Regions from separate parts of the Homo sapiens genome. Here regions 1, 2, 3, 4, 5 and 7 are each linked to region 6. Evidence: promoter capture Hi-C in 16 types of primary human blood cells and fetal thymus (Javierre and others, 2016). All regions are on one chromosome and are shown on one strand. The core of a region is centred on a gene start or on the middle of the fragment in contact, and the rest is flanking DNA. Distances in the headings are between cores, read along the strand shown. Region 1 holds the start of HPF1 (histone PARylation factor 1). Region 2 overlaps NEIL3 (nei like DNA glycosylase 3). Region 3 overlaps MFAP3L (microfibril associated protein 3 like). Region 4 overlaps CLCN3 (chloride voltage-gated channel 3). Region 5 overlaps AGA-DT (AGA divergent transcript). Region 6 holds the start of FBXO8 (F-box protein 8). Region 7 overlaps NEK1 (NIMA related kinase 1).

What was found. Contacts are between HindIII fragments. The CHiCAGO score rates a contact against its expected background, and 5 or more counts as called.
Region 1: the fragment with the promoter of HPF1 here is called in contact with the fragment with the promoter of FBXO8 in region 6 in 6 of 17 cell types (non-activated CD4 T cells, naive CD4 T cells, fetal thymus and 3 more); the score reaches 13.2 in non-activated CD4 T cells.
Region 2: a contact is called between a fragment that was not itself captured here and the fragment with the promoter of FBXO8 in region 6, in 1 of 17 cell types (total CD4 T cells). The highest score is 6.1, in total CD4 T cells.
Region 3: a contact is called between a fragment that was not itself captured here and the fragment with the promoter of FBXO8 in region 6, in 2 of 17 cell types (naive CD4 T cells and non-activated CD4 T cells). The highest score is 7.2, in naive CD4 T cells.
Region 4: a contact is called between a fragment that was not itself captured here and the fragment with the promoter of FBXO8 in region 6, in 1 of 17 cell types (non-activated CD4 T cells). The highest score is 9.4, in non-activated CD4 T cells.
Region 5: a fragment that was not itself captured here is called in contact with the fragment with the promoter of FBXO8 in region 6 in 1 of 17 cell types (total CD4 T cells); the score reaches 8.2 in total CD4 T cells.
Region 7: a fragment that was not itself captured here is called in contact with the fragment with the promoter of FBXO8 in region 6 in 1 of 17 cell types (activated CD4 T cells); the score reaches 6.1 in activated CD4 T cells.

Annotation. Positions count from the first base shown.
Region 1 is chr4:169,756,353-169,760,482 of GRCh38, reverse strand. It overlaps HPF1 (histone PARylation factor 1), which reads left to right and starts at 2,539. Exons shown (of 8, transcript NM_017867.3): 1 at 2,539-2,653. The coding sequence starts at 2,606. It overlaps LOC107986240 (a long non-coding RNA gene), which reads right to left and starts at 2,420. Exons shown (of 3, transcript XR_001741529.2): 1 at 2,259-2,420. RefSeq lists an enhancer at 2,622-2,691. The HindIII fragment of the contact is 1,294 bases long and covers 1,459-2,752 here.
Region 2 is chr4:177,320,947-177,324,556 of GRCh38, reverse strand. It overlaps NEIL3 (nei like DNA glycosylase 3), which reads right to left. Exons shown (of 10, transcript NM_018248.3): 2 at 1,977-2,098. Among named protein-coding and RNA genes, the nearest start is that of NEIL3, 13 kb to the right of the region's middle. The HindIII fragment of the contact is 274 bases long and covers 1,712-1,985 here.
Region 3 is chr4:170,019,254-170,022,885 of GRCh38, reverse strand. All of the region lies in intron 1 of MFAP3L (microfibril associated protein 3 like), which reads left to right. Among named protein-coding and RNA genes, the nearest start is that of MFAP3L, 5.3 kb to the left of the region's middle. The HindIII fragment of the contact is 7,338 bases long and covers 1-3,632 here.
Region 4 is chr4:169,630,821-169,634,924 of GRCh38, reverse strand. All of the region lies in intron 1 of CLCN3 (chloride voltage-gated channel 3), which reads right to left. Among named protein-coding and RNA genes, the nearest start is that of CLCN3, 12 kb to the right of the region's middle. The HindIII fragment of the contact is 6,464 bases long and covers 1-4,104 here.
Region 5 is chr4:177,456,923-177,460,540 of GRCh38, reverse strand. All of the region lies in intron 1 of AGA-DT (AGA divergent transcript), which reads right to left. It also overlaps the pseudogene RNA5SP172. Among named protein-coding and RNA genes, the nearest start is that of AGA-DT, 14 kb to the right of the region's middle. The HindIII fragment of the contact is 4,157 bases long and covers 195-3,618 here.
Region 6 is chr4:174,282,129-174,286,248 of GRCh38, reverse strand. It overlaps FBXO8 (F-box protein 8), which reads left to right and starts at 2,582. Exons shown (of 6, transcript NM_012180.3): 1 at 2,582-2,839. CEP44 (centrosomal protein 44) reads right to left here and starts at 2,338. Exons shown (of 12, transcript NM_001040157.3): 1 at 2,306-2,338. RefSeq lists a silencer at 2,106-2,373 and an enhancer at 2,138-2,387. The HindIII fragment of the contact is 4,999 bases long and covers 7-4,120 here.
Region 7 is chr4:169,598,836-169,602,519 of GRCh38, reverse strand. It overlaps NEK1 (NIMA related kinase 1), which reads left to right. Exons shown (of 36, transcript NM_001199397.3): 3 at 1-6; 4 at 416-512; 5 at 3,323-3,420. Among named protein-coding and RNA genes, the nearest start is that of NEK1, 12 kb to the left of the region's middle. The HindIII fragment of the contact is 2,128 bases long and covers 1,121-3,248 here.

The DNA.
Region 1 (4,130 bases), core at 1,290-3,789, 4.5 Mb after region 6:
ACTCTCTCTCTGCTAGATTCTTGAACTGAATCTTTGATCTTTTCCTGCCCTTGGTGATCCTGGTTTGCAAGACTTCAAACTCGAACTGGAATCTACACCATTGGCTCCCCAGTTATCAGGGCTTCAAACTACAATATGGGCTTTCTGGATCTTCAGCTTGCAGACAGCAGATTATGCAGCTTCTCAACCCCTATAATCACGTGAGCTAATAGATAGCTAGATACAGATGTAGGTATAGATATAGATAAATAGATACCTATTTGTTCTGTTTCTCTGGAGAACCCCGACTAATACAGTGCATATAATGAAATTATTAAGACTCCCAGCCTCCTTCCTGCATTGGGCTCCAAGAAGTCTGTATATTCTCAAAGTGAGTAATTAGAAGATTACTCTCTAGAAGAAAATAAACAGCTGGTTCTTTCCCCATCATCTTACACCTTGTCCAGCAGTAAACAAGCCTTGCCTATGTCCCCAAAGCACCTTTTTAGAGCCTCATTTTTACATATAAATTGACAGCAAGGATCACCACACAAGATGAAGAATGCCTCTAGCAGAAACAACAGGAACCAAATGTAAACAAACAAACAACCAAAAAAGACTCAAAAGAATCAAAGTCAATGCAGAGTTACGTAGAAAGCATTTTTAAAAACGCTATAATTGACATCTTCAGAGATAAAAGGAGCTATATTCATGAAAAATAATGTAATGCTATAAAAGAACAGAGAATAAAAAGAGCACTGAGAAATAAAGGTATAATACAGAAATTAAGTAATTAATCTTTATTAAGTATAATAAAGAAATTAAGTAATTGTCCAATTAAGTTGAGAAAGTCACAGAGAAAGTAGAATAAAAATATGAAGACATAGAAAATAGGACAGACAGGTAAGAAAAAACATCAGCCAAGAAGGTCCACGATCTAAATAACAAATTTCAAAAAAGAAGAGATACGATGGGGGGTGGGGGGGAAGAAATGATCAAATAAATAATACCAGAAGAATTCCCATAACTGAAGAACATGTGTTTCAGGATTGAAAAACTGGTCGATAGGAATGAGAAAAGACCCATAACCAAGACACTCAATAGTGTTTTAGAACACTGGGAATAGGCCGGACGCGGTGGCTCACACCCGTCATCCCAGCACTTTGGGAGGCCGAGGAGGGCGGATCACGAGGTCAGGAGATCGAGACCATCCTGGCTAACACGGTGAAACCCCGTCTCTACTAAAAATACAAAAAAAAAAAAAATTAGCTGGGCGTGGTGGCGGGCGCCTGTAGTCCCAGCTACTCCGGAGGCTGAGGTAGGAGAACGGTGTGAACCCGGGAGGTGGAGCTTGCAGTGAGCTGAGGTGGCACCACTGCACTCCAGCCTGGGCAACAGAGCGAGACTCCGTCTCAAAAAAAACAAAACAAAACAAAACAAAACAAAAAACACTGGAAACAGAGAAAAGATCCTAAAGCTTCTTGAGACAAAACAAAACAGAAAGGAAAGCAGGTTACATATCAAGAAATTTAGTGACCTGTGAAGGAGAAGGAAATATAACGACATAGTTTCTTAACAATTCTGGAAGCTAAAATATTGCGGAGCAAGCCCTCCAATATTCCGAGTGAAAGTTATTTTCAACCTAGAACTGTGCTCAGCCAGAATAAAAACATTTCCAGACATGCACACTCTGTGGGAAAAAAGACCTGGCAGCAACCTCTCTCAAGGAACTATTGGCGGATATGTTCCACAACATGAGGGTATATAATCAAGAAAAAGGAACACCCAGATTGAGGAAATAGAGAACTCATCTCAGGAATGAGGAATAAGACCTTCCCAGGATGGATGTGAAGGAGGTCCAAGGACATCAGTTGAGAGTTGTGCCTTCCAAATTTTATGTGCATAGGAATTACCAGGGGATCTTGTTGCGATGCAGATATTGATTCAGTAAGTCTGGGTAAGGCCTGAGATTTGGCGTTTTAACAAATTCCCTCAGGATGCTGAGGCCGCTGGTTCAGGGACTACACTTTGCATATCAGCGGTGTAGAGGAAAAACAGTCCAAATTGTACCAAGAAGACGACGGTACAGAGACAGAGACCGACAGACATTTATTTCCTTCTTGGAGACAATCGGGAATGAATTAGTGTAAGCCAATAACCGTACAGTAGGGTAGGGAGAGGGATGGAGGAGAAGGAGAAAAGGATTAATATTTTAAGTAAATATAAATGAAGAAAAAACAAGGAAGGGGCTGTATTGAGAACAGCCGCATACATCCAACCTTGCCTCTAGTAGACACCTGAAGAGGAAGGTTGGACCACTCTAAGGATTCAGATTCAGTAGTCTGGGGGGTCTCTGGAGCGACCCTGGAAGATGCTCCAGAAAGCCTAGATGCAGACTACGCTGACAGAAGACGCTCCTTGCACGCGCCCAGCACGGGAGTGGGCGGGGCCTCAACGCGTCCGGTGCCAGGTCTCAGGGGGCGGGGAATGGGCGGAGCCTTTCCCCTAAATTGGCGAGCCCGGGCGGCGCTGAAATTCGGCTTGGAGGCTTTTGAACCCGGAAGCGGTTGGCGGCGCTCGGAAGCGGCCGCGGATCGGGGAATTCTGCTGGCGCTGCAGCTGCAGAATGGTCGGCGGTGGCGGGAAGCGCAGGCCCGGCGGAGAGGGGCCGCAGGTACTGCCGGAAAGGCTGTGCGGGCTACGCGGGGCGCTTTGGGTGACAGCCAGGGCACCAGGAGGCAGCGCTTTTCATTCATCCAGTGACTATTAAGCTTGCTGTGTGTCCAGGGGCTGCGGTTTGCTGCGGGGATCCTGCCCAGGGCCGCTGTTTCGCGCTCTGCAGGGGGTTGGACCAGGAAAGTAGCTCCTCTGCATCTTCTGCCCAGCTCCTCTTGGAGCATTTCCTGGGGAAACGGATTAAGCCAACCAATGGTTCATTCGCCCAGCCAGATTGATTGGGAACCGATTACATACCTGACATTCTGTGGGGCGCTGCGGATTTGGGGGTCAACCTGCTTGCTCCTGCTGCTTGTTGAGCCCTCGGCCTGGGGAGGAGGGGCACAAGCAAATATGCATTCTACTGTGACTTTTTTGTTTGGGATTATAACGCTGGTGTGTAGAAAGTGCTATGGAAACACTGAAGGAGGATTTAACAAGTCCCAGGGGGTGTTAAAGAAGACTTTTAAGACAACTCTTTGAAAATTGGTTTTGAAGGCAGAGAAGTAAGATTCTGAGACATAAAACTGTAGGAGATGTTTGGGCGTAGCGGAGCGTTCGGCTTGGCTGGAGCCAGGGAAATGGGAAAATAAGAGGGACCTGATCATAAAAGCACTACTGAGAGGGGAGGAGGAGAGAGTGTGTGCATTCTCATACTTTACTACGATTTCGGAAGTTCTGTAACCACTACAGTAGCAATAAGGGGAATCAGGAAAGAAGTGCCATTGTGATAACTAAAGTTTTAGAAAAGTTACTCTGGTAGTGTCATAAATCGGACAGGGTGAGACATTCTTAGAGGGCTTAACTAACTGTTAAAGGGCCATCGGTATAGGCATCCTTCATATTGGGTCATGCATTCTAGGAAGACCAGGGTAAAGAAGAAGTGTAGCCTCTGAAGGGGACAGCTGTTCTAAATCCTAGTTGTTAGGGCTATGGAGATGCTGAACTAGTGTGTGAGTAAAGGCACAGCTGAAAAAATTCTCTTTTTGAAGGTGCAGTGAAGAACTGCTTTGGTGGAGTGATGTGCTTAACTAGAAATACAATAACAGAAATGAAGATGAGTCTGTAGAGACTATAACCGTAATGGCCAGCATTTGTATATTATGTGCTAGGACCGTTCTGTGTATTTTTACATATAATAACATTCCTTGTAACAACCCCGATATAGGCACTGTATGCCCTTTTTGCAGATGAGAAAACAAAGCACAGAGAGGTTAAGTAACTTGCCTAAGGTTGGAAATCAGTAGAGTCAGGAGTCAACCCAGGCAACCTAACTATTATGCAAAACTGCCTTTCAGCAAGGCAGATTAAGCCTTTTCTAACATCTTAAGTTGGAGCCAGTCTTTGAACGTCTGAACAAAGACAGTTATGAAAACAGAAGATAGGATAGCTCAGGACTTCATATGTTCCTACTGTTCTATATTTGATGTTGGAGA
Region 2 (3,610 bases), core at 599-3,098, 3.0 Mb before region 6:
GGAGCACTTGAATATATCACTTAGTAGGTAGAGAAGTAATCACTCTCTAATTTGTATCTTTCTGATGTGTGGATTTTTACAGGGCAGATTCTTTTAGAGGCTATGCTCGTATTCTACTTTCATTAACAAATGAATCCCAGGAGATTCAACCAATGAATCCCAGGAGATTCATGGCCCAACCTATGAGATGCACACACTTTATGACTAAACTCTGCGGGCAATTTTGCTTGTGAAAAGTTGGGTATCAAGGGAAAACTGTGAGCAACCTTTGAAAGTGTTTCCTGCTATATGCTCTATCAAATGCAGATGAGCCAGGTGGGTGGGAGGCAGAAGTCAAAAATGAAGACTACATTTCTATTGCAGGTGCACAGACCTGCAGCCTCACAAAAAGATCACATTTCTTTGAGAGAGTTATCCATTCCTCTAAGAAGCACAGGTTGGAAGTACATTTTTTGAACTTCTGTTACATTGTGAAAAGAGGGGCAAATGATTTTAGGTTCAGATTCCAACAGCAGATCTGCCATTGACCTTGAATTGTTACATCCAATAGTTGTTATGGCTGCAGGAAACTGAAAGGAAGCAAGCCACTGCATTTTTCCCACCCATATACTGACATAGGTACTCTCCAGGGAGGGCACTAGTTCAATGAGTTTGAAGAAGTGATTGTCCTTGTTTAGAACTTCATGGAACACTTACTGACAGCCGTGTGCTGAGAAATGACTTCCCCCTTATCAGTCTGGTGGAGAGCACTTGATAAAAACCCCCTCTCATCTTACAGAAATAAATCTGTACCTAACACCAGAGAATCAATAACATATCAATGTTTTCAACTATCGTGCATAGATCCCATTGTGTACTACTCTATCCAGAGCTATGAGTTTTCCATCACATCAGTCTACTACAGCAGCAGTGTAACCTGCAATATATCATTACTGCATGAACAACTAGGCATATGCTGATGTTATCAATTCCAGACTAAGCAAAACCATGAAGTGACAATGTTGTCCAAGGACAGCAGCTGCTGACAATGAAAAGAGAACACCTCAAAGGAAAAGCAATTACATAAACCCTGGATTACTCTAAATATGTGGTAGATGAGATGCAATAAAGAACAATCATATAGTATCATCTCTTTGTGACAATTATTCACCTTTGGTTAGCATGGGGTCCAGGAACAGGTCTTTTCTTTTAAGAAAAAGGTGATAACTGTGGTCAGTATCTTTAAACAGCACTAAAAACGATTTGAGGAAGCAGTATCAATTTTTACAGTTGGCAAAAGCTTAGGCTAAACTCAGAAAAGACAGAATGAGATTGGGTAGACATATTAACTCAAAGGCCGCTTTCATTTTCCTGCAAAAATTAAACATGTGATCATGCATCACAATTACATATATTTTGACTTTTTTATCATTAAGTCAACAAAGGAAATAGGTTGCTAGTCCTTCTCTGCCAGTATATTAGCCATGAATTTCCATGGGAACTGTGAAACAATGGAGAACCTGTTATTTCTCTGGAAAGTTTTTACACTCTCTAAGTAAATTTCCAAATTCCATTCAAGGCTTCAGAGAAAGCAGGAAGCCAGAAAAATATTTAAAGATCAAGTGATACATTTAAACCAAACTAGGGCCTGTCACAAATATAAAGTAACCGATGTCACTGAATACAATAAGCATTCGGTAAAAACAAGGAGAGACTTGTGGTATAGGAAGCTTGGGGACTAGCAAAACAGATGTGTTGCTCTAATACATCTTGGGAAGCCCTGTAAAATGACTGTCTTCCAAGTGATGATGACATCAGAATTTATTCTTCTGCTGTTTATTGATTTCCATGATAGAATCACAACCTCTCATATTGGAGCTCTCTTAAAAACACAGTACTTCCTATATGATTAAATGTGACACCCGGCAAACTCCATCTAGCCTTCTACGCATCTTTAAATATAGAGAGATAAGATGTATCGTACAGGCTTATCTTACCGTAAAGCTTTTGGTCCAAAGTACATAAAGAGCTCCTTCCCCAAAGTTTCCACGCCACTGTAAACATATCCATTAAACAGGCTCAAGACATTCTGGCTGGAATCATTATTCAGTGCAGCAGCCTAGTGGAAAATACATGTACACACATAAGCACACACACACACAAACTCTAAGCAAAAGCATTATTTAATTCTTAAATGTGTTTATATTACTTCACGCCCAGGTGCATTCCAATGAGAAGAATAATCTCCAACAAGTCATGTAATGTAATCGGCTGTTTACATACATTTTGTCAAATCACTATGCAGTCATTTAAAGAGAGAGAGGCCAAAAAAATTAAGTGAAAAAAAGTAATTGGTAGACAAGCAAAATAAAGTTTCTTCCAGGACCATATAGCTCTGTGCATATGAAAAGAAAGCATAGGAATACAACACGAATGTTCTAAAACTAAAAACTGGAATATAGGTTCTTCCATTTCCAGAAGTATATAGCCAAGTTCCCTGAAAGAGTGGTCAGATAAAAACAGCTACAAATGACAGATGATAAAATATGAAAACAAAATATTTTTAACTTCACCGATGAACTTTTAAGCTAGTATGAAATAATAAAAGGTCAAAAACTAAAAGCGGGAGAGAACCCTGAGAGGTAGTAGGGAGAGCTGTGAAGCCAGCATCTATCCTAAGGGCATTGATTGAAACTAAGGAATGAGAGCTTCAATTTTCACATGAAACTAAGGAATGAGAGCTTCAATTTTCACATCTTGTGAGGGTGCAGGAGATCAGAGATAAAAACCTGCGGCCCCCTGAGTAGGGGAATCTAATTTGAGACCTGTCCTATTCCAAGCACAATGTTAAGAATAAAGAAAAAATAAACTCATATTCCCTTTCCCCCATCAGCCTTGCAAAACCAAACAATATATTGTTAGAATGACAACATATAGGCAGAATCCTATAAGATATTCGAGGAAATTATAAACATGAATTAAACAGAAAACAAAAATATAAAATGTAGGTTCTTCTGTGGGAGAAGAAAAGAAAGGGCGTTTGGTTTAGATTTTAGTAATGCCCTTTTTCTTAAACTGAGCATTATGTATACTGGTGTTTCTTATGTCATTATTTTTTATTATTTATATATGTTTTATAAACATTATTTAATTTAAACTCAAAATGTAATAAAAATGTAAAACTTAAGACATGCGTAATTATTATATAAGATAAAATAGGGTACACAGAATTACATCTACGCATTAACTCAGTCTAAGGTAATATCCTCATTTACCTCTAACTTCTTTTGTGTTTTTCTCAAATGGGCCTAAGGATCCTCAGAAGATTCTGAACGAAACCTTGGTGGGCAGTGGGAGTGGGGAAATGTCAAGATATAATTATAAAACAGCTTTAGATACAGAGTCTAGAAACAAGTCACAATTTTTCCTCAATTTAGAGTGAAATGATATTGTTCAGTGATTCTCAAACTTTTGATTTTACAGACATTTGTCATTCTAAATGCTTAAGATGACATGTCCACTCTATTCTTTATTTCACTAAATTGGTCTTTGTTAAGATACAATCACAGTACTTAGCTCAAAGAGAGATAACAGGGAGATAAAGAAAAAAAAAAAAAAGAGACAGACACTA
Region 3 (3,632 bases), core at 363-2,862, 4.3 Mb after region 6:
CTTAGTGGGCAAAAGTCAGAGACTCTGCAGGGCCTTGTTCCTTTGGGAAGCCCTAGGGGAGAATCTGTTTCTTTGCCTTTGCCACCTTCTAGAGGCCACCCCCATTCCTTGTTTTGTAGCCCCATCCGTCTTCAAAGCTCAGAGCGGCCAGTCCAATCTTTCTCTTGGGGCATCACTCTGACGCTGACTTCTGCTTCCCTCTTTCACGTGAAAGAACCTTTGTGATTACATTGGGCCCACCTGAATGATGGCTCGTTAAGACCTGTTTGAACTTCCGTGCCCCAGAACTGCAAAATAAATTTATGTTAAATCCCTCAGTCTGTGGAAATCTGTTACAGGAACCATGGAAAGCAAATACAGCCATATCCACTGAAAGGTTTGGTGCAATGGACTAATAGGCAAGGGCAGGAGGAGGGGAACAAAGTGGTCCTTTTACTGTGATGAGCTCAGTGTCATGTGAAGGAGTTTGGATTCTGTCCTATTATAGAGAAAATATGGGAAACCAGAACATGAAATGGAACAGACCGATGCCAGATTTACTTCCTAAAAACACAATGGATAACTAAACCCCAGGTTTCACAGGGCAGCTTGATAAAGGAAGTCCAACAAGAGGTGGTCAGTGGCCAGTAGAGGTCTGGAACCAGCATGCTGTAATTCAGGTCTCTGGATTCATCTGAAATGGCAGCATTTGTATGCATGTATGAAATTAATAGCTTAAAACTTTTACTCACAATAAGAAGGACATCATAAAGCAGAAGAGGCAAGTCACATTTCACTTTGTTTCTGCTCATTGTCCTCTAACAGTAATCAGCTGTTCTGCTGTCTGCGTACCATGCACACGTGAGCAAGGAGCTGTGAAAGCTAAAATTTAACATAATTAACTTGAGAATGATGAGATTTCACATGGGCCAACTCTGACCAGTTGGTAATAGCTGCTTGCAATGTCATGGGCTTGTACTGGTTCAGCTGGGAAAGTGCCACAATCAATCACCAATGTTTGCGATGGGCTCCATATTTGACGTTGGTGTTGGGGGATGTGGGAGTTGACAGCTATAATACTACATAAACTAACTTTTGGGTTTGAATATTAGAAATCTAGTAATTCTTTTCAAACATATTCATTTAGTCTCTCTTATGTACAAGGCCTCAATATCTACCTTGCAAAAATGTGTTGTCTCTTGGTTAAATTGACATCTCTGTGTCCAGAAAACCTAAACTGAAGGATTCTTCTATCTTAGTGTTGTAAGAGTGGCTTTGAATTGAAACTGAACTGCATGTAAGAAAAACAAATTTTTCAGACAATGTGGTAAAAGAAGGCCTGGGTTAGCAGTATCTGACACTGGAAACAACAGTAAGACTTGACTAAAATTTATCCTAATAAAACAAAACTTTATATTGTATAGCTAGCATCCATTTGTATGACTTGATAAGATTTTTACCCAAATGTTCTCATAGAATGATGCAAAAAAAATTGTTTTCTATTGTAAAGTACTAGGTCAGTGTAAACCATTCCCTCGCTCTTAAATCTTAATAGGGAAAAACCAGGTTGTGGTAGCCAGATATTTAGGAGTGAGAACCACCAGGACTCAGTGGTAGAGTTGTACTCTATCTGTGGGCAGGGAAGGAAAGATGGCATTTTAAACAACTCCCATGTAATTAATTGGATTATCTGTGTCAGGCTCTACAGAAGTGCAGAGGGCCCACCTGCTGTGGCCTTTGGAATACTGTGCCCTTAGCTATTCCCAATATTTTTTTTATTGCTCTTTCTCCGAGAGCTTGTACTCTGCTTTCCCTGGGTTCTAACCCGGGTCTCTTGTCTTGCTTGTGGCCCTCTGTGTTCTTTCCGGGTGACTTATTTTTCCTCATGACTGCATCAGTCACCCATGCACCAGTGTCCAGCCTTTCTCAAGCCCATATTCCATCCATTCATTAATTCATTCAACAGGTAGTGACAACCTGAGATTTTAATCTAATGAAGGGTCAAATGTGCAAAAAGATAATTATAGCGAAAATAGGAAGTTATGAGTAAAGGGTGGTGAGAAAAGGAGTGTCTGGGGCTACCTTGGGAGTCTTGGAGGGCTTTTGAACCAAGACCTCAAAGCTAGGGGTTTGCCAGATGTGCAAGGTAAGGAAGGGAACGTGGCTGGAGGTGGTGCCGTGGGGAACTACTGGGAGTTGAGGAAAGAGAACTTGCTGGGGTTGGGGAGATGGGAGGAGGAGGCTCCAGAGATGCAGTCAGGGAGGGGAATGGGAGGAGGGAGGGGGGAGGGGGAGGCTCCAGAGATGCAGTCAGGGAGGTGGATGGGAGTCAGACTGTGAAGAATCACCTAGGTCCTGCGTAGGACTTGAGTTTCACACTGTTGACACAACGAAGACATGGAATATGTTTTAGATCTTTCAGAGTCAGCTGACTCTAGTAATGACATGGTATGTGGATTGGAGGCAGGCAAGACTAGAGGCAGGTCGGCAAGGAAGGAGTCCAGTAGAGATGATGAGCACATAACCCAGGGGAAACCCAGGATGTGGCAGCCCAATATTGAGGAGTGAGAATCATTAGAACTCAGTGATTGATATGTTTCTCAGGGCAGGGAAGGAAAGGGGACATTTTAAACAATGTCTTTATAGTGAACCAGATTCTGTCTCAGGTACAGCAGAAATGTGGAAGGCCCACCTGTCTCGAGGATAGTGGGGTCTGAGCATCTCTCAGGGGTCTTCCTACCAAAGGCAAGACTTTGCAGCACCAGAGAGACTAACTTCCACTGCCTGTGCTTAACCAAAAGGGACTTCAGGCCAGGGAGGAGCTGCAAAGCCCCACACACAGCACCACATGCGAGGGAAGAAGTCGGAACCTTATCACAGGGCACAGACTTTGTAAGAGATACATAAAAGAAGAAATTAACTCCCTGATGGACCCTCAGCTTTTGGACTGAAGCATTGGGGACTTGCTAATGAGACTGAAAGAAAGTTGTTGTGGGTTGGGCTTTCCTAATTCTGGATTGAGACTGTAACTTACTTAGAGGCTGTGCTGAAATTGACTCTAGTCAACAGGAAAGAGGAAAACTTGCTGAACAGATACTGAAGTATAATCCCAACCCCTTCCTTCCACTGAGGATTTGAGTTTGCTGATGGTGTGAGGAAGATCGTAAGGGAAGGGTTTGCTCCTTGAGGAAATAAATGGGTTAGAATAAAGTGCTCCAGAATTGTCCACTTCTGGGACCCACCCAGTTCAGGTGCAGGCTGAGACTAATTCAAATCATTCTCATCGGTTTACGAAAGCAGTACCTCTTAACAAGATAGGATCCATCTGTTCTCGAGTCTCTACCTTTCATATGTGTGTGTATATAGATGAGGTCTCGCTCTGTTGCCCAGGCTGGAGTACAGTGGCATGATCATGGCTCACTGTAGCCTCAAACTCCTGGGCTCAGGTGATCCTCCTACCTCAACCTCTGGAGTAGCTGGGATTACAGGTGCATGCCACCATGCTCAGCTAATTAATTTTTTTGTAGACATGAAGTCTTGCTATGTTGCCCAGGCTGGTCTCAAACTCCTGGCCTCAAGCTATCTCCAGACTCTGCCTCCCAAAGTGCTGGGATTACAGACATGAGCCATTGCACCAGGCTGTATCTGTACCT
Region 4 (4,104 bases), core at 568-3,067, 4.7 Mb after region 6:
TAGACTATTACTGACAATAAATATCTTTTAAACAGATTATATAAATTTCCTAACTTAAAGATCACTTTGAAAAAGGTGAAGTTTTGAGAGCTCCTTGAGAGCATGCCTCTGCTCTCCACATCTGGCATAATGACTGGCACAGTGTAAGAACAACAAATGTCAAACTATTCAATTAATGAGGTCAAAAAGAGAAATGTATTCAGTTTTCAATTTAAAAAAAAATCCTCTCTCCAAGAGTATTAAACTGTTCTTGGAGGAATAACCAAAATTAGCAAATTAAAAAAGAAAAATGTAAATACTTGCTGCTTTGCAACTTTATGAATGTTTTATAGTTATCGCTACCAAAGATGGCATATTATACTGAGATGAGATTTGTTAGAGTATATTAATTAAAACAATAGGAAAGTATGAAAGTAGTTGTTCATACTAAGAAATCTGCAGTTCCATAGAGGCAAACAAATTAAATATTATGTGGCTTTTGAGAAAATTACCAAAAGGCTTTTAAAAACATAAACATTAATAGCTTAAGAATCATTTAATTTTGATGTATCAAAGCATGTATGCTAAGATTTTTGTGAAGAACACAGACACTCTGTTTTTATTTCTTTACAGAATAGAAGGGCTTAATACATATGATAACATTTCAGTGAACATTAGCTAGAGGCTACACAGCACTAAGAAATCTCTGTAAAATCATTAAACCTTTTTATGTGTTAATACTTCAATCAGCAAATTCCAATATATCTCCTCCATTTTATCCCTAAAAGTCTCTCAAAAATCGTAAGTGGTAACTGGAAATTTAACTATTTCCGTTAAAAAAATTAATTTCATAATACCTTTGAGACACCTAGCCTGCAGATCATTCTTTGTAACACAAGCATGCAACTCTGCTCCAAATAAACCAATTAAACCCAGGCCTGCATGGGTTTCTATTTCTATAAATTTGATAACTTAAGATAAAAAAAAAAAACTATTCCACGTATTAACCCAGAAACCTATAGAGCTGTACTGACTGATGCAGCAGCCAGCATACATACGGCTATCGAGCCATTGAAACATGGCTGGTCCAAACTGAAATGTGCTCTAAGTGTAAAATACCTACCAGATTTCTAAGACTTAATATTTAAAAAGGATGTCAAATATTTGACTAGAAATTTTATACTGATTACATGTTGAAATATTTTAGATCCATTGGGTTAAATAAAATATATTTGAAATGAATCTCACCACTTTCTTTTTACCTTTTTAATGTGGCTACTGAAAAATTAAAAATTACCTATGTGGCTTGCATTTGCAGCACTAACACTTTTATTGAACAGCACTGCTATAAAATATTCAAATTTCTATAGTAGCATAAAGGACATATAACAGAAGGAAATCTGAACACTAGTGTTAAATATTTTCAGGTTCTAAACCCAATTCCCAGGCTTGGGCACAAAAGGCTATTTAGACTCTAACACAGCAGATGAAATTTTACATATTTAAAAAAAATAATGCAAAGTCACCTTTTCCATTTTAATCACCAAAAATATACTTATAATCATTTCAAAACATTGTAATAGATACACAGTAGCTTGTAAATATATTCTTACAAAATTATAAAAATTAGAGATAAGCTGGGTGTGGTGGCGCATGCCTGTAGTTCCAGCACTTTGGGAGGCCGAGGCAGCTGGATCGCTTGAGGTCAAGAGCTCAAGACCCACCTGGCCATGGTGGTGAACCCCATCTCTATTAAAAATAAAAAATTAGCCGGGCGTGGTGGCAGCCGCCTGTAACCCCAGCTACTAAGGAGCCTGAGGCATGAAAATCGCTTGAGCCAGAGAGGCGGCAGTTGCAGTGAGCTGAGATTATGCCACTGCACTCCAGCCTGGGAAACAGAGTGAGACTCTGTCTCAAACAAAGTAATAATAATAATCAGAGATAAACTATGAAAACTTCCAGTAATAAGGCCTCGTTTACCTAATAAATTCCTATATTATCTACGTGCAATTATTTTGCTTCCTTCGAATCTGATGACACTGCAGCCAGCACAGTTTTTTTTTCCAAAAAGTAAGTTTGCTCATAATCTCTCTCCATTCCATGTTAACATCTCTTAATCATTTCCTGCTACCCTTAAGAAACAAACTCTTTAATATAGCAGAAAAAGTTCTATGCAGCCCAACCCCTGCTAGTTCCCCAGCACTTTTTTTTTTTTTTTTTTTTTTTTTTGAGATGGAGTCTCGCTCTGTCACCCAGGCTGGAGTGCAGTGGCGCGATCGCTGCTCACTGCAAACTCCGCCTCCTGGGTTCAGGCCATTCTTCTGCCTCAGCCTCCCGAGTACCTGGGACTACAGGCGCCCGCCACTGCGCCCGGCTAATTTTTTGTGTTTTTAGTAGAGACGGGGTTTCACCATGGTCTCAATCTCCTGACCTCGTGATCCGCCCGCCTCGGCCTCCCAAATTGCTGGTATTACAGGCCTGAGCCACCGCGCCTGGCCCCAGCTTCTTTTAATAGCCATTCTGACTGGCGTGAGATGGTGTCTCACTGTGGTTTTGATTTCCATTTCGCTAATCATTAGTGATGTTGAGCATTTTTTCACATGCTTGTTGGCCAGTTGTATATCTTACTTTGAGAAGTATGTACTTCCTGAAGTACTCTAGACTCACTGATCTTTCAATCTCTCAGTCCTATCAAGCTCTTTCCTGACTCCTGCCCCAAGGCCTTTGTTGCTCCCTCTGCCTGGATCATACCCTCTTCTCTTTAACAACTCACTCTCTTAATATTTTGTTGAAGGTTTTTACATCTATGTTCATCAGGGATATTGACCTGTACTTTTCCTTTTTCATTGTGTCTTTGCCAGGTTTTGGTATCGGGGTGAAGCTGGAATGAGTTAAGGAGGAGCCCCTCCTCATTTTTTGGAGTCGTTTCAGTAGAATTGGTACCAGCTTTCTTTGTACATCTGATAGAATTCAGCTATGAATACATCTGGTCCAGGGCTTTTCTGGTTGGTAGATTTTTTATTACCGATTCCATTTTGGAACTCGATATTGGTCTGTTCAGGATTTCAATTTCATCCTGATTTAATCTTGGGAGGCTGTTTCCAGAATTTACCCATTTCCTCTAGATTTTCTAGTTCGTGTTTACAGATGTGTTCATAATAGTCTCTGGGGATCTTTTGTATTTCCATGGGATTGGTTGTAATGTCACCTTTGTTGTTTCTGATTGTGTGGTGATTTGGATCTTGTCTCTTTCTCTGTTAATCTAGCTAACGTCTGACAAAGGTCTAATATCTACAATCTACAAGAAGCAAACAATTCAACAAGCAAAAAACAACATTATTAAAAAGTGGGCAAAGACGGCCGGGCGCGGTGGCTCACGCCTGTAACCCCAGCACTTTGGGAGGCCTAGGTGGGCGGATCACGAGGTCAGGAGATCAAGACCATCCTGGCTAACATGGTGAAACCCCGTCTCTACTAAAAATACAAAAAAAATTAGCCGGGCGTGGTGGTGGGCGCCTGTAGTCCCAGCTACTCCGGAGGCTGGGGCAGGAGAATGGCGTGAAACCAGGAGGCGGAGCTTGCAGTGAGCCGAGATTGCGCCACTGCACTCCAGCCTGGGCGACAACAGAGCAAGACTCCGTCTCCAACAAACAAACAAAAAAAGTAGGCAAGGACATGAACAGATACTTCTCAAATTAAGATATACAACTGTCCAACAAGCAGATGAAAAAATGCCCAACGTCACTAATCATTAGAGAAATGGAAATCAAAACCACAATGAAACACCATCTCACACCAGTCAGGATGGCTATTATTAAAAAGCCAAAAAACAACAGATGCTGGCAAGGCTATGGAATGCTTATACACTGTCAGTGGGAATGTAAATTGGCTCAGCCCCTGTGGAAAGCAGTTTGGAGATTTATCAAAGAACTTAAAACAGAAATACCATTTGACCCAGCAATGCCATTACTGGGTATATACCCAAAAGAAAATAAATTGTTCTACATAAAAGACACATGTGCTTATATGTTCATCACAGCACTACCCACAATAGCAAAAACACAGAATCAACCTAGGTGCTCATCAATAGTGGACTGGATAAAGAAAATATGGTACAGGCTGGGT
Region 5 (3,618 bases), core at 1,024-3,523, 3.2 Mb before region 6:
TTGTTTTTAACCTAAACTAGATGCTTGACTAGAGGATTCTAACCCACGAATAGGCTAAATCCATGATTATCAAACCCATGTTGGTTAGAATTTAATTAAGTTTATCTGAGATATTATATAAAGATTTGAAAATAAATTGTAAAACACCACCATTCAGCTCCCATAGGATGGTAATAATACTGGATTTTTAAGCTTTTTATTATTATGAATTCATACTAGTTGTACATATTTATGGGGTACATGTGATACTTTGATACAAGCACACAATGTATAACGATCAAATCAGGAAAATTGGAGTATCCATCACGAATCAAGCATTCATCATACTGCTTTTTCTGTAATTCCCCAATGATTAAATAATCACCTTTAGCAGTTATTTGTATCACAGCCCTTATAATCAAGTCATATCAGTTTGAATAGTAGGGGGACAGAGCATCTACCTTGACTGTTGGTTAGGTTCAATAAAATTATAGAGGTGGAAGAAATGTTAGTGATACAGTATTGACCTTAACAGGTACATGAGTTGTGATAACAGTGACCAAGTGATTCTCTATGGCTTTGATTTAGGTCACAGAGTCCTGGAAAGATTTATTTATGTCTAAACTAAACCTACCTGTTGAGCAAAATTCTTCTTGTCCTGTCTTCAGGGTATATATGGATATGGAAACTTTGTCCTTTGCTGTTTGGGATTTTTGAAATGCATTTGATTACAATTTAGGTAACCCTCTTAAAGTCAAAGCTGCTTAAGTTCTCTGTACTCTAATACCCATTTTAGAAGCTAAATTATTCTGTTGCCTTTCACTTCATCATCTTCAAGTTACTTTCCTTAAATTATTTTACTTAAAGAAAAATAATGAGAGGATTACTAATCTAGCATATTTAAAATATCCTCAACATAATCATTTCTTTGGTTGGTTGTTTAAGGAGAAAGAGTGCAGGTGGGTGGTGTGTGGGTACATTCTGAGTCTTAGTTGTTTATGAGACACAATCGGATGTTATTATGTAATATAACATGACCTATTAGTTTGGAAGAAGTATAATTTAAAAGAAAATAATGTGGTTTCTGGAATTAGATATTATGGGTTGGTATGCTAGCTGTACTATTTGGGAGAATTTGGACAAGTTGCTTAACCTTTCTGGGTTTCTTTTCCTCGCCTATAAAGCATGGATAATAATAGTGAGAGGATTAAATAAGTTAACACATGAAATACTCAGGATAGTACTAGGTTCTTGGTAAGTACACAATATGTGGTAGCTGTTCATCGTCATGATGTTATTGTATACATACATGACATATTGACATATTTAGGCTCCTCACATCTCCTAGAGGGAAACCAAAACTCATGGCAGAGTCAGGAAAATGAAAAATAAGCCAAAAACCTCTTTTTTATTGTAGAAGGTCTGACTCTTCAACCTGTCCCTTAATATGAACACTAATTGACTTGGGTACTTTCCACCATTCCCCATTTTTCCCTTACATTTTCCCATACAGGGATTATATTATATATTTATCCTCAAGTATTTTTATTTTTTTCTTTTTTTTTCGAGACGGAGTTTCGCTTTTGTCACCCAGACTGGAGTGCAATGGTGCGATCTCGGCTCATGCAACCTCCGCCTCCTGGGTTCAAGTAATTGTCCTGCCTCAGCCTCCCGAGTAGCTGGGATTACAGGCGTGTGCCACCACGCCTGGCTAATTTTTGTATTTTTAGCAGTGACGGGGTTTCACCATGTTGGCCAGGCTGGACTCGAACTCCTGACCTCAGGTGACCCACCTGCCTTGGCCTCCCAAAGTGCTGGGATTACAGGCGTGAGCCACCGTGCCCGGCCTACCTTCAAGTATTTTTAAAATTCACTAACTCAGGAGATTCTTGCTCACCTCCCATTTTCAAAAGAAAGAGAATTCACATAAAGTGAACAGCCGAAGTCGCTGAAAATTGGTTTTCCTTACACTTTCCCTCCCAGTTACAGCCTTTTTGTTGTAAGGAAGAAGGGGCTATTTGCCATCACTGAAGGGCTTTGGAGCGGCATGGTGAGTTCAGTAAAATTAATTTTTTTTCAGTCAAGTAATGAAACCTCTAACACCAAGTAGCAGCAACTTTCAGTTTAGTTTTTCATTGTCTTCAATTCAATGTACAAAACCTTGTAGTAAAAAAAGCATGAAAAAATTATTTTTTAAGTATTCTAGATGAGAAGAGAAATAGTCTCAAATTTAACAACTGTCAACAGTTAAAATCTAAAAACAGGAGGCATAGTAGGAGTTTAGAACCTTTGTAAATTTAGAATTTTGGTAAACTTGTTTTCTCCTTGTTGTTTCTCACTTTTGACTAATAATTTCCGTGAAATCAAGGCCTGCCTTTCTGTGCTCCACAAAGTTGCTTATATTGCTACTGTTAGCCCCAGTTAGTCCAGGGAATGGAATGTAGAGTACAGGCACCTATAGAATTTAAAGGGGAGATTTCTTTATTTTGTATTCAATGTATTAATAAGATTTTTAAAACATATTTTGGAGAAATTGCTAATTAGTGTATAATCCTGATGCCAATTCTAAAAAACCTTTTTTTTTTTTGTAGAGACAGGGTCTTATTCTGTCACCCGGGCTGGAGTGCTCTGGTATGATCCTAGTTCACTGTAACCTCAAATACCTGGTCTCAAGCAATCCTCCTACCTCAGCCTCCCCAGTAGCTGTCTCTATAAGCATGCACCACCACACCTGGCTAATTTTCTTATTATTTTTGGTAGAGACAGTCTCACTATGTTGCCCAGGCTGGTCTTGAACTCCTAACCTCAAGCAAACATCCCTCCTCGTGCTCCCAAAATGCTGGGATTACAAGCATAAGCCTTACAAGCATAAGCTACCATGACTGGCTTCCAAAAAATATTTGTTTAAATTCTCTTCCCTCCACAAACACACGCAAAAGAAATATAATCTCCCTTCAGTTTTTTTGACAATATACCACTTTCAGTGGTTTATCTTAGACATCTCAAACCTTTAGAAACAAGTCCTGAACTTAAGCGTTCTGCATGTAGAATCAAAAGGAAAATAAACTGCCAAATCTGAAGGTTTGCATTTGAAGTTTGCATTAGTATACTTATCTCTGGATTCCGTTGATTCACATACTCCTCCTACAAGATTTTCCCTAAACACATTTTGAAAAGAAAATGTTGTCTTTACTGAATAATTTCTCTACACACACCCACAATCACTTCTTAGTTTATTTAAATTAGCAATTGTGTCTGCCAGAAGAAAGTTCCATCTAGAGATACAAGGTTGGTTTTCCAATCAGTAGCTGTGGGATAGAATTAAATAAATTAGTCTATGGCCATACCACCCTGAACATGCCTGCTCTCGTCTGAGCTCAGAAGCTAAGCAGGGTCGGGCCTGGTTAGTACTTGGATGGGAGAATTACATAAATTAGTTTTGTTTTTGTTTTCTTCAGACAGAATCTCACTCTGTTACCCAGGCTGGAGTGCAGTGGCATGATCTCAGCTCACTGCAACCTCCGCCTCCTGCGTTCAAGCAATTCTTTCTGCCTCAGCCTCCCAAGCAGCTGGGATTACAGGCCTGTGCCCCACACTTGGCTAGTTTTTTGTATTTTTGTTATAGGCGGGGTTTCACCA
Region 6 (4,120 bases), core at 1,333-3,832:
TAAGCTTCCTACTTTAAGCCCCTCGCCACTCATTTCCACAGCCATTTCCCCAGGGTAGAGCAACTGCTCCCTCTTTATGAACCTACCTTTCTGTTCCTAGTCTCCTTTATCAACATGGTAGGCAACAGCTTATTGAATATACTTTATAGACTTGTGCATGCACATTTTAGTCACTATTTTTCAGCCAATAAATTACTTCAACTAAACATTTACATTTCTAGACAGAGATAATTTTAGGTACTGTCAAATGGGAGATAACTAGAAAAAGAGAAAGTCATCCTGAAATCACATTATACAAAACACTGGCCAAGAAGGTAAACCCTATTTAATATCCTTTAGACTGACTGGGGGTAGATGGACACACGGAAGCCTAAAAGGGATTTCCCAAGATAAGCCTTTACTTTCCTGAAAAACATGAAGTGAGGACTACTCTGGCTTTAACCGCAAAAAATGTATTCTTGGATTTTGCCACTGGCCAATATAGTAGGTCTGAGCTTCTTTCGGGTTCCAGACCCATCTATCGTAACACAATTCTTCTAGGGATACCTTCTTCCCAGTAACTTTAATGTAAATTCTATGTCTTTCCAGACTTCCTTTAGTCCTTCCAGATGTATATTCCATTTTCCCAGTGCAAGTAATTCTGTTTTACGTAACACTTTATGATATCTTCTCACCTTTCCTTTTTCTGACATTTTGGAAAACATTTCAGTGTCTCTTACATGATTTCTACCTCTGATAATGGAATTTCTGACAACAAAGTTATGTCTCTCTTCAGTACCAGTGAATAAATATTTTGAAGAGTAATACAAGCAGAGCTCGTGAACGAGGTAAGTGATAGGAGACAGAAAAATAAAGGGATTTAAAATTGGGATTATCACAGAATAAAATTACAGCTACTGCTCTACATTCTCACAAAGGGCTTTACTAAGTCTACTATAAAATTCAAAAGCCTTAAAAACAAGACATTAAAAGAAGCCAATCTATTACTTATGTACATTTTAACACCTTACTTTCATTAATGAAAAATACTTTTAAAAATTTAACATTTTCAACTTATAGCACTGATCAAAGGCAAACTAAGGAAAAAAGGAGATACCACTCAGCTTGCAGCATAGATTCAATAATAAAGAAGCTCTCAATATTCCTTTCTAGCTTCCTTCCTTGTCTACAAGTCAGATCTGCGCAATTGAACTTGTGGGAGAGGTTGTGAAAATAGTGTACTCTAGCAGTTTAGGATTTTCAACATCGCTCAATCTCATTGCTGTTAGAGGTCATTAAAACAATGCCTCCCAATAGAATGTCACTGGACCAGAGTGATTTTTGTTTAGAATGAAGCAACTACACTGACTCTAATAACAGTCAATGGCTAAGAGTTTGTGACATAGCACATAATGCTCGATATTATCTAAAAACACGTATCAAAAACAAAAAAGTAAAGATGAGAAAAACAGTTTATGAAACTGCAAAAGATATTAGGGAAATACTTCTCTAAGAGATAGGAGAAAGGTCTGAGAAAGGCAAAGCATCGAGAAAGCTGGGCGGGAGTGGGGAGGAGTAAGGGACAAGTAAAGAGTTCAACGGGACTGCTGTGTTCACACATAAAATTAAAAGGTCTGCAGATAATTCGGGAAAAAAACAGTCTAGCATGGCCATAATTCCAGAGTAAAAGAGAATAACAACTTCAAGATTAACTTGTTACAGTGAGGGAAAAATCTGTAGCCTTCAATAAAGGTGGAGAAATATTTGAAAAGCTGGGGAAATGCCAACAAGGAAAACACGAACTGCTGTCCTGTCTTCCTTATAGTCAGGAGCCGTTTGTATCCTCACCCCAGAGGATCCAATAGGAATCAGTAAGCCTATAACTTTCCAACCCTAAGTCACAACCTAATTCTGATAGGATGAGCTACCACGATACTTCCCACTTCGTTGTGACTAAAAGCATATACTAGTTGGGTATATAAGCAAGGCTCCCCTCCCGCCATTTGATTTAAAAGAATGAAAAGGCGGATCTGGTCATTCGTCTCCGCCCGGGGTCTCTGTAAGGACGGCGGAGAGAGGCGACCTCCGCCCAATACCAGGCGCAGCCTTGCCGTCTCCTCGGGGCTCACCAAGCAGCCACCAGCAAAGAAGCCGGTTTCAAAGGCCCAGCACGACAGGGAGAGGAAAACGGAGCATATGCAACCATACACAGTCACCAGAGTCCAGCCTCCCGCAACCAGTCGCTACAGCCAGGCGCCTGCGCCCAGAAGCGCTTCTCGCGCCGACCGTTTGTATTTGGAATTGTGGGTTCCTGCCCGCCACGCACCACCGCAAGACCTTCAAAGCTGGGAGCTTCTCTGTGCTCCAGGATTCCTCGCTGCCGATTCCACACCGCGTTCAAGACTCCTGTGAAGAGCGACTCCGCTGAGAGCCTCCTCAATGGCCAGTCCACTTCTAACTTGCAGCTGAGAAGTTTTTCTGATCTTGATGGTCAGAGTGGCTCGTGCTACGAAGTGAGAAACAAGGAATCTATAGCGAATCGTAAACAACAGAAATAAAAATGCGTCTCCGTTAAGAGTCGGAGCCTAACGTCACTTCCGGCAACAATAGGAAACGTCAAAATTGGGATAGTCGGCAGTTCTGGCCCCTGCAGCTGGAGGTACCCTGAGTTCTGAGGGTCGTAGTGCTGTTTCTGGTATTCTCATCGCGGTCACCTCTACCGGTGTGGACAAGTAAAGTTTGAATCAGCTTCTCCATGGCCTGGGCACCAGTTCCCGGCTGAGCCATTTTCCTTTTGGCTAAAAGTCCCCGCCCAGAGGCCAATTCGTCGCGGCGGCGGTGGAGATCGCAGGTCGCTCAGGTACAGGAGTCAACCTAGATATTTTAGATCTCTTGTCTCTTTTCCCTGTTCACCTTCACTTTTCTCGAAAATAAAGACAACCAGTGCTTGCCAGTTGGCCGAAACTGGCCGACCAGCAAGAGTTTGCGACCAATGACAGTGCGAAGCATCTTGAGTGACAGTAGTGGTGGCTCATTAAAGTGAGGAATCACTGTCAGGAGGCGGAACTGGGTGTGTTCCTTCTGTTTCTAGGCCATTGGGGTGTAGTTCGGTTTAGGACTCCAAGTAGTAACCCAGCGTCATTGTGAAATAAACCTGAGAAATGACAAGGGTTACTTTCTTCAGGTCCAAGTGTTGGTTTTCGGGTCGAGTGTTATTTTGGTTCCTAGACAGTTTTTGGTTCTTTACCACTTTCCAGTAATATGAATGCAAACACAAGTATAGTTAAGATCACGATGGATTGCTAGCTGCTACAGTAGTCAAACTTGGGTTATAAAACTTGTCAAACTTGTCTTTTATTTGTTTCTCAGCGACTGGGTTCTAATCTCTTACGTAGAAGGTTCTCAATATTTATTTGGCAAAATCACATAAATGGATCCCAATCCTCAGTCATTTAATTTTTTTAGTTTTATTTTTAGGTTCTGTATGAATTTACTAATAAAATAATTGATTCTACTTGTTTTACAAGTAAAATATTCATTTTCAAGGCTCCTAGGTGTATATCCACAAATGAATATATCATGATTTTTATTACGGTAAAGTGAAGACAATTTATGTTTTCTATTTCAGCTTTCCTCTTCCTTCTTTTAATGTTTGAAGTAATGTATTTCTGAGGTAGGAGCTCTACACACTTCTCAACTCTACCCTTCACGAAAATGATATGTGAAACAGAGTAGGTTTCAGAATAAAGAATGCATAAGTTTTATTATTTTTTTCATATTGGGTCAGAAATTCATCTTTAGCCAATTAACCTGACAATATGTCTGATGAGGTACTTCATTAGTTGTCTATTGCTGGGTAACAAATTACCCCCAAATTTACCCCAGCTTAAAACAACAAATATTATCAGTTTCTGTACATCAGGAATTAGGGTGCAGCGTAACTTCATTTAATAATAAGTTACAGCAAATTAACTAATATTACTTGGGGCCCTTGGATCAATTACTTCCATCCACAAAATATTATAGTAACTTCTAGATAAGCCAAAACATTGATCATAATTTATTACATATGGTCACTTTAATGGGGAATGTTTTGTGTGTTTACTGTTGCTAGGTTAAAAGATATCTTCCTCATTTTACA
Region 7 (3,684 bases), core at 935-3,434, 4.7 Mb after region 6:
TCAAGAGTAAGTATATTTTTAGTTTGGTTTCATGAGTAATGGTTTAGTTACAATAGAGCTCATTGTTAGAGATTTTCTTTAAAAAAAAAAAAAAGTAATCGATAACCTAAAGCAAAAGACTCCTTTATTCCCGCTAATATCAGAATAGCCTATATATTCTTTCAGATTTTTTCTATGATATGTGCTTATGTTTATGTGTTTAGAAAAATATACTTGCTGTTCTGTAACCTAATCTAGTTTGGACATCTTAAAATGTTTCTACTTACAGATTCAACTCATTCTTTTTAACTTCTTGCTATATTTTGTTGATTGAACTGTATTAATACTATTATGTTTTAACCACTCACCTATTGATGGACTTTTAGGTTGTTTATTAATGGTTTCATTTACTATTTTCTTTTTCCTCCCATTTAAGATGTCCAGTAAAGAAAGAGAAGAATCAAGGAGAGAAGTTGCAGTATTGGCAAACATGAAGCATCCAAATATTGTCCAGTATAGAGAATCATTTGAAGGTCAGATAAATTATGCGAGAGAGTTAAAAAATCCTAAGACATTAATAAATCTTTTTGTGAATGCATTCTTAGGAAAAAGATACCATTTTTGCTTAAAAACATACGCATATGAATATCAGCTTGATTCAAGGACAATACTGATATCATGCCTGCATTTTTTTTTTTTTTTAAATTGAGACAGTCTCGCTCAGTGGCCCAGGCTGGAGTGCAGGGGCATGATCTCGGCTTACTCCAACCTCTGCCTCCCAGGTTCAAGTGATTCTTATGCCTCAGCCTCCCAACTGTGCCTGTATAATTTAATACTGGCTGTTATTAGTGATTGCTTTAAAAGAAGCAATGCAGTAAGTGCAAGAATTTGGACAGAGCAAGAACAGTAATTTACATATTTTTTAACTGAACTTCCTGTAAGTGCTGCCACCACTACCACTGAGAAAATGTTCTGATCTTTAGAAAGTATCCTCACTCAGTATGCTCCTCTGTACCTCACTATTATAATAGTGAGGTATGTTGAAAGTTTTCTCAGGTTCTTAAAGTATTATAGCTATAATGCTGTTTTGGAACTATATGCATTATATTTAATAATGCAGGTATTAAGATAAGGCAAAGCTTCTCTAAAGGCAGGTCAAAGTGGTTTATTGAAGTCCTACCCAAATATTCTCATTATTATAAATTTCTGTAACTTAATTTCTGTAAACTAAAAACCAGGTAATCTAGATTGAAAGTAGAAGATAATTGAAATGACTCAGGGACATATCACATACCAGTTTCAGAGTCTGAATTAGAGCTAAAGTTACTACATTCCCAGATGAACTCTGTGTCTACTATAAGTCTCTTCTACTTTTATAAAAATGTGATTCAATTAATACATTATGTCACAAGGTACTGTATTTTTTATGCTGGCAGTGAAATGAAGATTTATATTTCATGTGAAAGAGTACAAAATTAACCAACTCTTCCTTTTCAGGACCTTGAATTTTCCTTTATCTTTCTCCTGGCATCTATCCTTTAGTTTCTTTTTTTGTTGTTGTTAACAAAATTTTAATATTTCAAGTTAAAAGGTTTTGAGCAAATATTCCAGCAGATGTTTTGGATTTATATTGACTGCTTCACATAGAAACATCTGTGTGATTCAAAAGGGGTAGCGTATTTTAAAAATAAGGCTTTATTATTTCTCTTAGTTTTAGAAGAATACATGCTAGCATCAAACATAAATGATAGCATAGTATATGTAATTTTTTGCTTTTTGTTATGCTACATACATTATAACATCTATATACATATAAATAGTGAATTATAGTTTTCAGGAGTTTTTTTCACATTATAATTTCTCACATGTATATTTGGATGATCTTTCCAGGTCAATCATAAAAAGTCATACAGATTCTTAATTAGCTTTATCATATAGATTCTTATCCCAGTGGCACATTACAAACAGTAGATCAAAAGAAGATATGTGCACCACGAGTGACAAGAATGTCACCACAAAGTATAAGAAATAAATACTCCTGGAGGCTGGATGCGGTGGCTCACAATTGTAATTTCAGCAACTTCGGGAGGCTGAGGTGGGAGGATCTCTTGAGCCCAGGAATTTGAGATCAGCCTGGGAAACATAGGGTGTTTGTAGACCCCATCTCTACAAAAATTTAAAAAATTAGCCAGGTGTGGTGGTGTGTGCCTGCGGTTCCACCTACTCTGGAAGCTAAGGTGGGAGGTTTGCTTGAGCTCGGGAGGTCGAGGCTACAGTGAGCCATCATCGTGCCATTGCACTCTAACCTGGACCCTGTCTCAAAAGAAAAAAAAAATACTGCTGGAAATAAGGCCATAGCACAGTCAGTGAAAGAAGTGAGAACTAGGAAAACTGTTCTTTGAGTTGTGATAGTCTCAGTACTATGTAGTGATTCAGAAAATGTTAAAAGTGATATTGGCCACTCTTCCTTACTTAAGAAGTAAGGGATGGAAAGAATCATCAAAGTGTTCTTCTAAGCTGGACACAGTAGCATGGGCTTGTAGTCCTAGCTATTGGGGAGGCTGAGGCGAGAGGTTCCCTTGAGCCCAGGAGCTCAAGGTCAGCATGAGCAAAATATTGAGACACTTTTTCTTAAAAGAAAAAAAAAAGCCTAAATAAAAAAAAGAAGTATTCTTGTAGTCCTTTCTATCCATAGGAAGAAGCACAGAAGTACCTTTCTTTGTGGACCGAGACATAAAGGTGGATGGGGCAGTGCCCATCTTCATGTTTGTTCACAAATCATATGCAATTTTTTAAAAAGTGCATAAAATTAAGGAAAGCTCAAAGAGGGTGGAAACAGTGTATCCTATACACTGTTGAATCCTCAGAGTTTATCACAACACTTATTATTTTATTTATTTAATAAGTAAGTGATTAAAGTGGATAAAACAAAGCAGAGAATTAATGGCCAGTCAGAAAACTAAGATAACCCATCTCTGATGTGATATATTGGTGGAAAAACATGATTTTATGTGTGACATTTAAGGAATTGTATTTATTGAATGAAATCAAGTATGTCTGCATTTTGTTTATATTTCAGAGATGTTTAGGTCAATGCAAACAGCACTATTCAATAAAATAGTGTATTTTTAATAGAAATCATTAATGATGGAGTTTTCTGTTAACCTAAGTCATTATACAATCTTTGTGACCGGTATACCTTGACTTTGTGCCCTAATTCTTTTGAGTATGGTCCTGTTTTTTGTTCAGCAGCTGCTTTTTAGTAAGCTTTTAAGTACTTTTAATTTAGCCATGCTTTTGATGTACGTTTTTAAAAGTGGACTGTAATGTTTATATTTTGTAGAAAATGGCTCTCTCTACATAGTAATGGATTACTGTGAGGGAGGGGATCTGTTTAAGCGAATAAATGCTCAGAAAGGCGTTTTGTTTCAAGAGGATCAGGTAAGTTTGCATTTAGGAAATTGACTCTTACTCTATTATTGAGAAGTAGTTCAAAATTTGTTTATGTGTGTATTTGTTTTTAACTACAAATGCTAATCAAAATTACTAGGGAAGTTTAGTATATCAATAGTTTACTCATATTTACCTCTAATTAGCTGCCACCTTTGTTCAGTTGCCCATCTCATTTATAGTCTGTAATGATATATTGTTATCTCTGTGATGTATGTTATATATATCATGCGTCTATGTATATGCCTTAATTAT